Linked DNA regions of Homo sapiens: regions 2 and 3 are each linked to region 1. Evidence: promoter capture Hi-C in human tissues and cell types (Jung and others, 2019). All regions are on one chromosome and are shown on one strand. Each heading gives the region's core, a stretch centred on a gene start or on the middle of the fragment in contact. The rest is flanking DNA. Distances are from core to core; before and after follow the strand shown.

Region 1 (3,711 bases), core at 833-3,332:
TTTCCCCTCAAATCATTTTCACTATCTAACTGCCTATTTTTTGGATATCCAATAGGCATCCCAAGTTCTTTGTATGTCCAAAACAAAACTTCCAGTGTTTATTCTGTAATTCTCTCCTCCCAGTGTGCCCTCATTTCAATAGAGGGCCCCAGCATCATTTGCCTGGTTGCTCAGGGCATGTGTGTATGTATATGGGGGGGCAGGAGGAGTGGGGTAGTAATGGAAGAAACCTGTCATCCTTTTTTTTTTTTTTTTTTTTTAATAGCGATGAGGTCTTGCTATGTTCCCCAGGCTGGTCTTGAACTCCTAGGTTCAAGCGATCCCCCTGCCTTGGCCTCCCAAAGTGCTGGGATTATAGGCGTGAGCCACGATGGCTGGCCCTGTCATCCTTGATACCTTTTTTCCTCACATTCCACATCCAATCCGTCTCACACCATGTTGGCTCAGGTCTTCAAAATACATTCAGAATCTGACCAATTCTCGTGACCTCCATCACTACCACTCTAGCTCAAACTACTACAGTTTCTCATTCTACCATATTTATTCCTAACTAGTTTCCCTTCTTCTATTCTTGCAATCTTCCAGGGTCCCACCTCCATCAGCCAGTGTAATCCTTTAAAAATATGTCATATCATATCATCTCCTGCTCAAAATCCACTAACTGCTTCCCACCACACTTAGTCTTCACCATGGCCTACAGGGCCTTACATGCACGATCTTGCCCCTGGCATCTTTATTTTCTGTCACTCTTTCCTCCCTCCCTCCCTCCCTCTCTCCCCCTCTCTCCCTCCTTCCCTCCTTCCCTCCCTCCCTCCCTGCCTCCCTCTCCCTCCTTCCAATCCAGTCATAACAGCCTCCCTGATGTTCTGTGAACAAGTCAAGCGTGCTATTTGAGGCCTCGGGACCTTTGCACTTGTTCCTCTGACTGAAACACTCCTGTTCAGATATCTACATACCTCACTCATTTAAGTCTATGCCCAAATGACAAACCTTCAGGGAGGTCTTCTCTAATACCTCCACCATTGCCTACTTTGCTTCACTTTTCTTCACAGCACTTATCAGTACCTGATATGACATGAAATATGTAGATACACATTTGTTTATTGTCTGTATTTCCATTTGGAGTGTAAGCTCTAAGAAAACAGGTTTTTGTTTGTTTTTTCCTTTCATCCCAGCATCCCCAGTGCCTGTGACTTTAGACAGAGCAGGCCCTAGGTAAACGTCTGTTAAATGAATGGATGACTCTGTTCTAATTTGTCTAATTTCTCGAGTCACCCTCAGCCAGATCCAACAAATATTTGAGTCTTAATTATGTAAGTGACACTTAGCTAGATGCTTACAGCTTTAAGAACGTATAAAACAGCCCCTAACCTGAACTGTGTCCTTTTGGGAGGGTACTGATTGGGAGAGGGCACAAGGAAACTCCCAGAGTACAGAAATGTTCTTTCTCTCCATCTGGGTGGTAGTTACACAGGTGCATACATAAGAGCAAATCTACTGAGTCATATTCTTAAGATGTGTATTTTATGTTGCACCCCAATAAAAGTTTTTGTTGTTGGTTTTTTTAAGGTTCTGACGTATCTAGACACAAAACGAGATAATTTCCCAACGTGGCAAGACCAATGATGGAGCTGCACAGCCTGCTTTGTGAGCAGTGAGAAAGTCACCCTCCAGGTACTAAGATTGGCATACCCTTTCCTTGATAAGAGAAAAAGGGTAAGATGTAGCCTGTTATTCCTCTGACGCTGGAATGTCGTAGAGATCACGGGCCTCTCCTAACCCCTGGAACCATCTTCTCACTGTGGCGCTGTTCATTGGGGCCCAGCAACAGAGATCCCGAATACAGGACGCTGGATCAGTGGGGCCTCGAGCCCTTAAGTGAGATGCAGCAAGGCAGAGCGGCCTTTGGGAGAGGGCAATGGGGCAGCCCTGTGCTTTAGACTTGGCTTGAGGAGGTGACACTGTGTCCACGTGCCTGTGAAGAGAGAACGGCTGAGTATACACGCGACCCGCCAGACTTCACAAACGGAGGAGACGCGGGTCACACCAGTGCGCATGCTCAGCAGGGGCTTCTGCCACGCAGGCGCACGGCGGCCGGCGCGGGCCGAGCGGAGGCAACTGCTGTGCGGCCTGCGGGCGCGCGCTCCCTTATCGGCCAACGGACGCGAGGCGCGCGCCATGGAACAGCGGTTAGCTGAGTTTCGGGCGGCGCGGAAACGGGCGGGTCTGGCGGCCCAACCCCCTGCTGCCAGTCAGGGCGCACAAACCCCAGGAGAGAAGGCGGAAGCAGCAGCGACTCTAAAGGCAGCCCCAGGCTGGCTAAAGCGGTTCCTGGTATGGAAACCTAGGCCCGCGAGTGCCCGGGCCCAGCCCGGCCTAGTTCAGGTGAGACGATGGAAACTTCGGCCCTAGGACCTGGCCTCGGAGCCACAGTCGAGGGCGCGGCCCTAGCTGCCGGGGGTGTGGCCCTAGCTGCCGGAGGCGGGGCTACTGGCCCCCCATCCTGATCGAGGGCCGGACCGCTCATCTCCGGCCACACGTGTCAGCACTGTTACCAGTTTTGACATTTTCTTTCCAGCCCGCGACCCACGCAGGTCCTGATTCCAGCGAGAGTCGAGGGTCCTGGGAGAAAGCACCTCTGCTCTTAAATTATTCACTCCGAATTGAGTTATCGTGACGCCCTGTGGCATTGGGAAACCTCTCCACAACCAAGTTGAGCCACAGCCCTCTGCTAATGGAGGAGGGTAAAAGGTCTAATTGGATACCGATCACAAGTAGCAGTAATTAAAACTTCATTTGATTCGCACCTGGGGCACATGCAGCTAGTAGCCCAGATAGCCTGTGACTTAGAAATGCGTTTGAATACAGAATTTACCAAAGTGTGGTAGCTGTAACTGCCGGTAGTGGCAGAAGCTTATTCCAGTTCCATAGTGAATGTTCAAGACACAAACAAAAAAAAGTGATTTAGTATGATAACCTTTTCACATTTAATTGTTTTGGTAATCTCTTGTTTTGCAGATGAATTTAATTTGCATCCTTTTGTGTTTTCATTTAGTTTTAACTCAGTAAAATGGTAAGGTGGCTTGCAGTGAGGTTGAAATGTCTATGTGGAAATACAAGACAAAACATATCAAGGGATGAGTGCTTTGTAACAATTTGTGCCCAGTGCTTTGTTCCTCATAAGTGCAATAAGAACTAAAAAATTCCTTTTAAAATGAAAATATACTGGAAGAAAAGTGTACCTTGCTCACCTTAAAATTATTTCCTGTAAGTTCATCTATTATTGCACAACATTTGATTTGAGGGAATTTTTAAAAATTACTGAACCTATTACTCAATTTTGATTTGATATTCTCAGTGATATACAGGATTCCAGCTGACTTGCAGAAAGGTGAAAAGAGCGCAGCAGAGTTCAGACAATCCATTTCCTTGTGTGCAGTTTGTGTTAATTGTCTTTGGATAATTTTATTGTTGACTAGAACTTTCTAAGTACAACACTTGCTTAAGATTTTAGAAACCATTTCCCTTATTCTTTTTCTCTCTGCAGTTAAAAAACAATGTCTAACCCATGCAATGAACTTTTGACTGTATGTCTCATTTCCAAAGGAATGAGATCATTGAGGTGGACCCAGAGAAACTGAATTCAGAGAAAAACTTCCATTATTGAGAACCCAAACGCTGATTGCCAGACAAAAGGATGAGAGGAAATGC
Region 2 (3,711 bases), core at 468-2,967, 1.2 Mb before region 1:
AAAAATTCCTAGCAGCTGAGGACAGTGAGAAGGCTGCTGGGAGAAAAAGCAGTGAGTGGGTGGGTGTAGCTCCCCACTGGCTGCCCCAGATCTTGACAGGCTGGGCTGGTAAGTCTGTCCCTCCTGAGCTGTGTGGTTGGGGAAGCTTACCTTCCCTGAGGAAGCCTGGCTTCCTCAGCAATAAGTGGGAATCACAAGAAGCCCCACTTTATAGATCAGTATGCATGCATGTGAACAGTTCAAGACTGACTGTTAAGTTGAAGAAAGCAAATTGCAGCAAAGCATAATTTCATTTTTTAAAAATGTACAATCATATTTGCAAACCCATGGGAAAGTCTAGAAAAATACATATCAAACTGTTAAGAGTAGTTACCTTGGGGAGAGAGAGGTGGGATTATAAGATACTTTTACTTTCAATATTGTGAATATTGTGAATTTCTATATTGTTTGATTTTTAAAATAATGAGTATTTATTACTTTTGTAATTGGAAAGCCTCCATTAAAAAAAAATCTGCTTCAAATGGCTAGTGTCAGCCTTCTGGACCACATGGGGAGAGAGGGATTTCCATACGGTCCCTTCTAAGCAGCACAGGCCACAGGGGCTGGGGGCAGAAGCCCTGGCTGAGGGGCTTAGCTCTGCCACGCAGTCCTGCGCAGGTTCCTCCATCTTCCTGAGCCCCTGGTTTCTCATCAGCAAAATGGGAATAATAACAACCTGAATCAGGAGGTCACCATCCAGGGAACACCATGAGGACTGAGTGATAGCACCTTCGCCCAAGCCCGGACACTCCGCTCCTCCCCAGAGAAAAGGAGGAGGGCAGGGCTGCAGGAGGGCCTGGGAACTCTGCTAGGCTTCTTAGGGTAGCACTGAAAGCTCCCACAGTTGGGCATTCCTCAGACCAGGAAAGGAGAGGAACAGAACCTGGTGCCTGGAATATGACAAAGTCAACTTACCCTATGTTCCACTCTAAATCTTTCATGCCTCCCAACCTCTGCTCATGCTGATCCCACTCCCGGGCTTGCTGTTCCTGCCTCCTGATTTGCCCTTGTCTCCCTCACCTGCTGCTTCCTACTCACCTTTCAGGAATCCTCTAGGAATCTTCCCTGAGCCCCTGGTGAAGTTGGGGGCAGGGAGCCCCTCTTGGCTGTTACATCAGCAGGCTGCATTTCTCTACCCTCCTGGGCTCACCTACTGCACAGTAATTACCTGTCTCCTCTTTGAGACTAAGAAGTGGGCAGGTAGGGGTCTTATTCACCTTTGAATCCCCAGCAGCTGGCAGAGTGCCAGGCACTTATTTTTACCTACCTTTTCCCTTGTAAACCTTTTGACATAAACCTCTTAGATTATCCTGGGATTTCCTAGTTGGCTCCTTTCTGCCAAGTGCGATCTGGCAGGACTATAAGGAAGGCAGAGGTAGGAGTGGGCTGGAGAGCTGGGGTGGCAGTGAGGGCATGGTGCCCTCTTGCGGCCAGGTGCAGGGGTGGCTGCAGCATCCTTACGGAAGAAAGGGAGGAGAGGACAGGTGGGCCGGTGAGCTAGATAAGATAGAGGAGGGTCTCTAGGAACAAGTAGAGGAGTGGGGAGATCACTGCATTGGCAGTTTCCCCAGCACAGCTAGGAGTGGTCCTTCTTCCATAGATCCCAGTGAGGGGCTGTGGCTTAGCTTAAAAGCATGAGAAAAGTTGGAGGAAGCCCAGAGACTGCTCCCTTGTGGAGAGGAGGACGCCACTTGGAGGTGCGTCAGGGAAATGCTTAGGCAGGAGGATGGACGCAGAGGTCCTAGAGGTGTGTGACCTGGGAGAGGGACATTGGTGCAAGGCTCCTGCTCACACATTGATGGAAGCCTGAGAATCGAGAGGCCCTCCAGCGAGGGAAACCAGACCGGCTTTCTCCGGCAGGGAACGCATACTTGGAAGCCTCTTGATCCTCCTCTCTGCTCCAGCCCTTACCGTGAGTAGGTCTTCAGCACACTGGATACCATTTTGTGCTTTGAGATGTTGGTGAGGGACCTGGAGGGGGCTCAGGCATCCTCTGGGGTATACACATCTGTTTCCAGGTGACATCTCTAGGACATCACACCCCGTTCACAGTACCTCCTCTATCTGCCCCCAGAACCCCACTCTTCCTGTGGTTTCAGAGATTAACTGGCGGAAGGGGCAGGTGAGAATGTAGGAAGTGGGGAAATCTAGGGAAGGTGGGTGGATGAAGCCAGCCAGCTAGGAAAGTGCTGACCCCAAAGGAGCCCCCCATGAGAGGCCCCCCTCAGCAGCCCTGCCTCCCACACCAGCCCTCTACCCTTAGCTCTCTCTAAAACAACAGAAAATCTTGCCTGGCTCCTCTCACCACCCAGCCCAAGAGAGGGAAAGCTTTCTTTTCTCTTTTCCTTCCTGCCCCTTCCCCATTTCTGGCCCCATCACCCCTTTCCAGGCCTCTATCCTTCTGTGTTCATCCTGACCTCTTCCCTGGCCTCGTGGCTCTCACTTTGAGAGTCAAACATGAGCTGGTTGGAGGAACACTGGGTCAGACATCCAGGGACCTGGGTATGCTGCTGATTTCACCACTGATGTTCTAATTTCTGAAAGCTCCCCAGAGCTCAGTGTCTTCACTTGCAAAGGGTTGGGAGGTTGGATTGGATAATCTGCCACAATCCTTTTAGTTCTGACATCCTGGGATGCATTAGGCTCCGTCAATCCTTGGCGACCCCTTTCCTAAAGCTGATCCCAGGGTCATAGTTAGAATGCATCAACTGCCTTAACTGATGTGAGACATTTCCTAGGGATATAGCCATATGGGAGATAACCTAGAGGAAATGTGAAAAGTATCCAATTCCTGAAACATCACTGTTTCCTCATGCCATGTGAGGAATCCCCACCCACAGAAGTCATCTGCTCCAGCCCCTGCATCAGGCCCAGAAACCAGAGCAGACAGACCCTGCTCACACTCTTTCCTTGCTTGTCATATGACCCAGGGACAGTATCAGATAGTTCCTGCCTTTACAGCCCTCTAGGACTTCACATTTCCAGTCATCCTCATGCCTGGCCCCTTGTGGGACAAGGGAGGGGTCTACCAGGGCCTCCTGAGCAGGGGGGCAGCCAAGGGAAGTACTTAGTTCACCAGAAGCCTTCATCAAGTTTCACTTCCTGGAGTCTAACTTAAACCTTTCTTGCTGCTGTATAAATCAATGTCCCCCAGTTCTGGCTTCCCCACCCTCCTCAAACTAAAGAGCTGCTCATTTGCATACAGCTGCCTCTCCCAGACCCATTTAACTCCCACCTCTCCTGGACTTTTCCTACAGGTTCTATTTTTTTCAACCTTTCATCATTTCTCCTATTGGCTCTGGCTGTGCTCCAGAGCTTCCAAATCCTTCTTAAATGTGACAGCTAAAATTAGATGCCGGGAGAAGGCCAAGTGCAGTGGGATGATCACACCCTGCCTGGCATGTGCCGATTCCTCCTTCCTGGGTCCTGTCCCAGCATGGAAGAGGCTGGTCCTTCCCTAAGGATGTTATTAGACTCCCAGTCCCCTATGATCCTGGGTCCCGTTGGGTTTCTCCTCACCTCCCCCTGGATTGATGAGGCTTGTGTTGAATTTCTACAAGCCTTGCCTTGTATTTCACCCATCCTGAATGGATCATTTTTCTAATCTGTCAAGGTTTCCCTGAATTCTATTTCCGCCCTCTTGGACTGGGTGTTTTCCTTCTGGTGCTCCAG
Region 3 (3,711 bases), core at 345-2,844, 1.1 Mb after region 1:
GAGCTATGCCATCACGTCACATAAAGAAAATGTAACCATGGCTGCAGAGATTTCGTTGGGTCACTCTAAACTGTTACCAAGATATGTAACTGAACTGTGGATCCTTTCAACAAATCTCTATATGAGGGGCTGAATATAGAGAACCAACGAACTAAGATCATTGTCATCTTCCTGAAAGATGAGAAGTAACATTCTTTGCCTACCATCATTGGAGGCAACGTTGATGGCCTTCTGGTTTTGATAATTATAGTCATTCTGTCCAAGTGTGGCATTTTCCCCCCAGCCCTCTTCTCGTGTTAGCAAGGTATGTGGCTTTTTAAAAAGAAAATATCAATAATTGAACTTAGCATAGGGAAGGCCCAGATGAAGCCAGCGAATCTGCTCACAGAAAAAAAATAAGATCTGCTCTCTCATCTACTGGGAGATAATATCAACCAATCCTCGAAATTCTAAAGACTTGGTGTCGTACTGATTGCTTTTTCCTTTAGGATGATCTAGAGTAGCATCGAACAAATTGTGGACTATCATAGGGTGTTTTATTTTGTTTTTATTGTTGTTGTTTTTTTGAGACAGGGTCTCACTCTTTCACCCAGGCTGCAGTGCAGTGGCAATTGCAACCTCCACCTCCTGGGCTCAAGTGATTCTCCCACCTCAGCCTCTTGAGTAGCTGGGACTACAGGCACAACACCGAGCCAGGCTAATTTTTGGATTTTTTGTAGAGACGGGATTTCACCATATTGCCTAGCCTTGTCTCGGATTCCTGGGTTCAAGCAATCCGCCCGCCTCAGCCTCTCAAAGCGCTGTGATTACAGGTGTGAGCCAACATAACTGGCCTAGAATATCGTGTTGTAACCACATATTTTCCCAAAACTGTATGCACTGTGCAAAAAGTAAACCTGGGAAACATTTGATGTTAAACTGTTTTCTTTAAAAAAAAAAAAAAAAGAAAAGAAAATACAGTAGTGTAATTTAGAACTAAACTATAAGCTTCCTGAGGGTATCATCTTTGTATCCATTATGTCTTCATTGAGCTTGCAAGTATTTATTGTTGAACTAAGCCTAGTTTATGTTTCTATAGGCTTAGTACGCATGAATATTTATAGTATATCTTCTTAAGGAAAACAACATCTCTTGAGTATTCTATAATTCAGCCGTTTTATTGAATAGGACAAAATCTCAGGCTTTCTGCATTTAAAATGTTCACACTTGACTGTATTTTCACTGGTAAAAATGTACTTCTCTAGTAATACAATAAATTTGATCAAGGATGCTAAACTCTGTATTCACCTAATATATCAATATTTAGACTAAAAGAAAAGACTAAAAGACAAAAAGAAAAGATAACAGACCAACAGCCATAACTCAATTCTCTTGTGTGCAACTACTTTTTACTCCTAGGGACAAAGGAGTTGCCTTTACTTTTATTCCTCTGACCTTCTCTACAGAGCTTGCCGGAAGCTATGGGAATGCACAAATACATGTTTATCCATGTTCTGAAAGAGGTTTTCCAAGCTGAATAAACCAGACATCTCACTCCACCAACTACATCATACAAATTTAGTTTATTTACATATGACCAAGGGATGAATTAATGGCTGAAAAAAAAAGTGCTAACATCAACCCTGTGATTTTATGAAGTAAAAAGTAATTCTAAATTCTAGAGCTCTGAACCTTTGGCCAAAAGCCCACTAAAAGATAAGACTGTAATAGAGTTTATGTTGCTCTGCTCTGTGCAAAGATCCTAGGAAAAATAAATGAACTGGGCAGGAAAGAACACCAGGATGGAGATCATTTGTAACAGAACACAGACTGTCTTACAAGATACATTTGCATCAGCCCTTCAGTTCCCAGTCCTAACTATGATTTCAGGAGCACCTTGTGCCTTCCAGAAGGTCAAACACTAGTAGTAATGGATCTGTGAAGAGGAGAGCAGTGAACCAGTGTCAGAAATAACAAAGCATTGTTTCTAGGGGATTATTATTCAACTGGAAGTTGGGACTGTCCTACTCCAGGTCAAGAGAAAGTAACTTATTTAAAAGAATGAATAAAAATGAGTTAGAATACTTTCTACACTAAGGGTGGTCAGAGTTATTTTGAAGATTTTTTAAAAATCTCCTTAGTAAAAGGATATACAAGCATTCTTGCATTTCTAAATTACCCTGCATTCTTCAACCTATTCTCCTTCAAGTGTGATTAGAGCGAACTCTGAGCTTTATTCAGTGCATCAGAGGAAGGTCCAGTGCCTATAATTTTCTCATTCATGAATATTTCTACTTCTAAAAAGAAAGAAGCATTAAGCAGAAGGTAGGCGCAAGACTCAGTCAGTGATATGGTTTGGTTGTGTCCCCACCCAAATCTCATTTTGGAATAAAAGTAAAGACAACTCCTTTGTCTCTAGGAGTAAAAAGTAGTTACACACAAGAGAACTGAGTTATGGCTGTTGGTCTGATATCTTTTCTTTTTGTCTTTTAGTCTTTTCTTTTAGTCTAAATATTGATATATTAGGTGAATACAGAGTTTAGCATCCTTGATCTAATTTATTGTTTTACTAGAGAATAATTCCTACGTGTCATGGGAGGGACAAGTGGGAGGTAACTGAATCATGGGGGCAGGTCTTTCCCAGGCGGTTCTCCTGACAGTAAATAAGTTAAGTCTCATGAGATCTGATGGTTTCATAAAGGGGAGGTCCCTTACACGAGCTCTCTTGCCTGCCACCATGTAAGATGTGTCTCTGCTTCTCCTTTGTCTTCTGCCATGATTGTGAGGCCTCCCCAGCCATGCCAAAATGTGAGTCCATTAAACCTCTTTCCTTTATAAATTACCCTGTCTTGGGTATGTCTTTATTAGCAGTATAAGAATGAACTAATAAATACAGTCAGGATCTATGAAATTTTCGCTCTTTCACAAATTTGTTTGGAGGGCATGGGAAATACAGTTTCTCAATTTCAGAATTAGATGAGAAGAATTTATAATTAATTAATGGAAGGTGCTATGGGTCTCGCAAATGATCAATATCAATCTGAGATCAACATCATCTCAAAACCTCTCAGGATCATCACAGTAAGTTTTTTGGTTTGTTTGGTATCTGAATTTGCTTTTATTTTTTTAAAAATTGTTTAAACTCCAATAGGGGGATAAGTAAAAGCAATTCTACTTGTGCCACCCAGAAGTATTTTCCTTTTTTAAAAAAGCTTTATTTATTTTTTCCTTCTAATCAATGGAATCTATAAAGCTTTATTTTTTAGTAATAGTTTTAGATTTATAAAAAGGTTGCCAGGATAGTACAGAGAATTCCCATATACTCAGGAGCCAATTTCTCCTATCATTAATATCTTACACTAGTATGGTATATTTGTTACAATTAACGAGCCAATATTGACACCCTATTAACTAAAGTCCACACTTGCTCAGATTTCCTTAGTTTTTACCTGATGTTCTTTTCCCATTCCAGGATCTCATCCAGGACACCACATTAGATTTAGTTGTCATGTCTCTTTATGTTCCTCTTAGCTGTGATAGTTTCTTAGATATTCCTTGTTTTTGATAACCTTGACATTTGTCAAGAGTACTGGTCAGGTATTTTGTACAATGCTCATCAATTTGGGTTTGTCTGATTTTTCTCATGGTTAAACTGGATTAATGGGATTGGAGGAAGATCACAGAGGCCATTCTCATCACACCATATCAAGGGTATATGCAATCAATATGAAT

What was found. Contacts are between HindIII fragments. The study calls those that stand out against the background at their distance.
Region 2: a fragment that was not itself captured here is called in contact with the fragment with the promoter of SAYSD1 in region 1 in 1 of the 25 tissues and cell types used here (pancreas).
Region 3: a fragment that was not itself captured here is called in contact with the fragment with the promoter of SAYSD1 in region 1 in 1 of the 25 tissues and cell types used here (hippocampus).

What each region holds. Positions count from the first base shown.
Region 1 is chr6:39,113,557-39,117,267 of GRCh38, reverse strand. It overlaps SAYSD1 (SAYSVFN motif domain containing 1), which reads left to right and starts at 2,082. Exons shown (of 2, transcript NM_018322.3): 1 at 2,082-2,385. The coding sequence starts at 2,179. RefSeq lists an enhancer at 2,199-2,488. The HindIII fragment of the contact is 12,223 bases long and covers 1-3,711 here.
Region 2 is chr6:40,326,598-40,330,308 of GRCh38, reverse strand. No RefSeq gene overlaps it. Among named protein-coding and RNA genes, the nearest start is that of LINC00951, 28 kb to the left of the region's middle. RefSeq lists an enhancer at 1-622. The HindIII fragment of the contact is 4,594 bases long and covers 1-3,711 here.
Region 3 is chr6:37,999,520-38,003,230 of GRCh38, reverse strand. All of the region lies in intron 2 of ZFAND3 (zinc finger AN1-type containing 3), which reads right to left. It also overlaps the pseudogene ITGAEP1. Among named protein-coding and RNA genes, the nearest start is that of ZFAND3, 180 kb to the right of the region's middle. The HindIII fragment of the contact is 5,667 bases long and covers 1-3,711 here.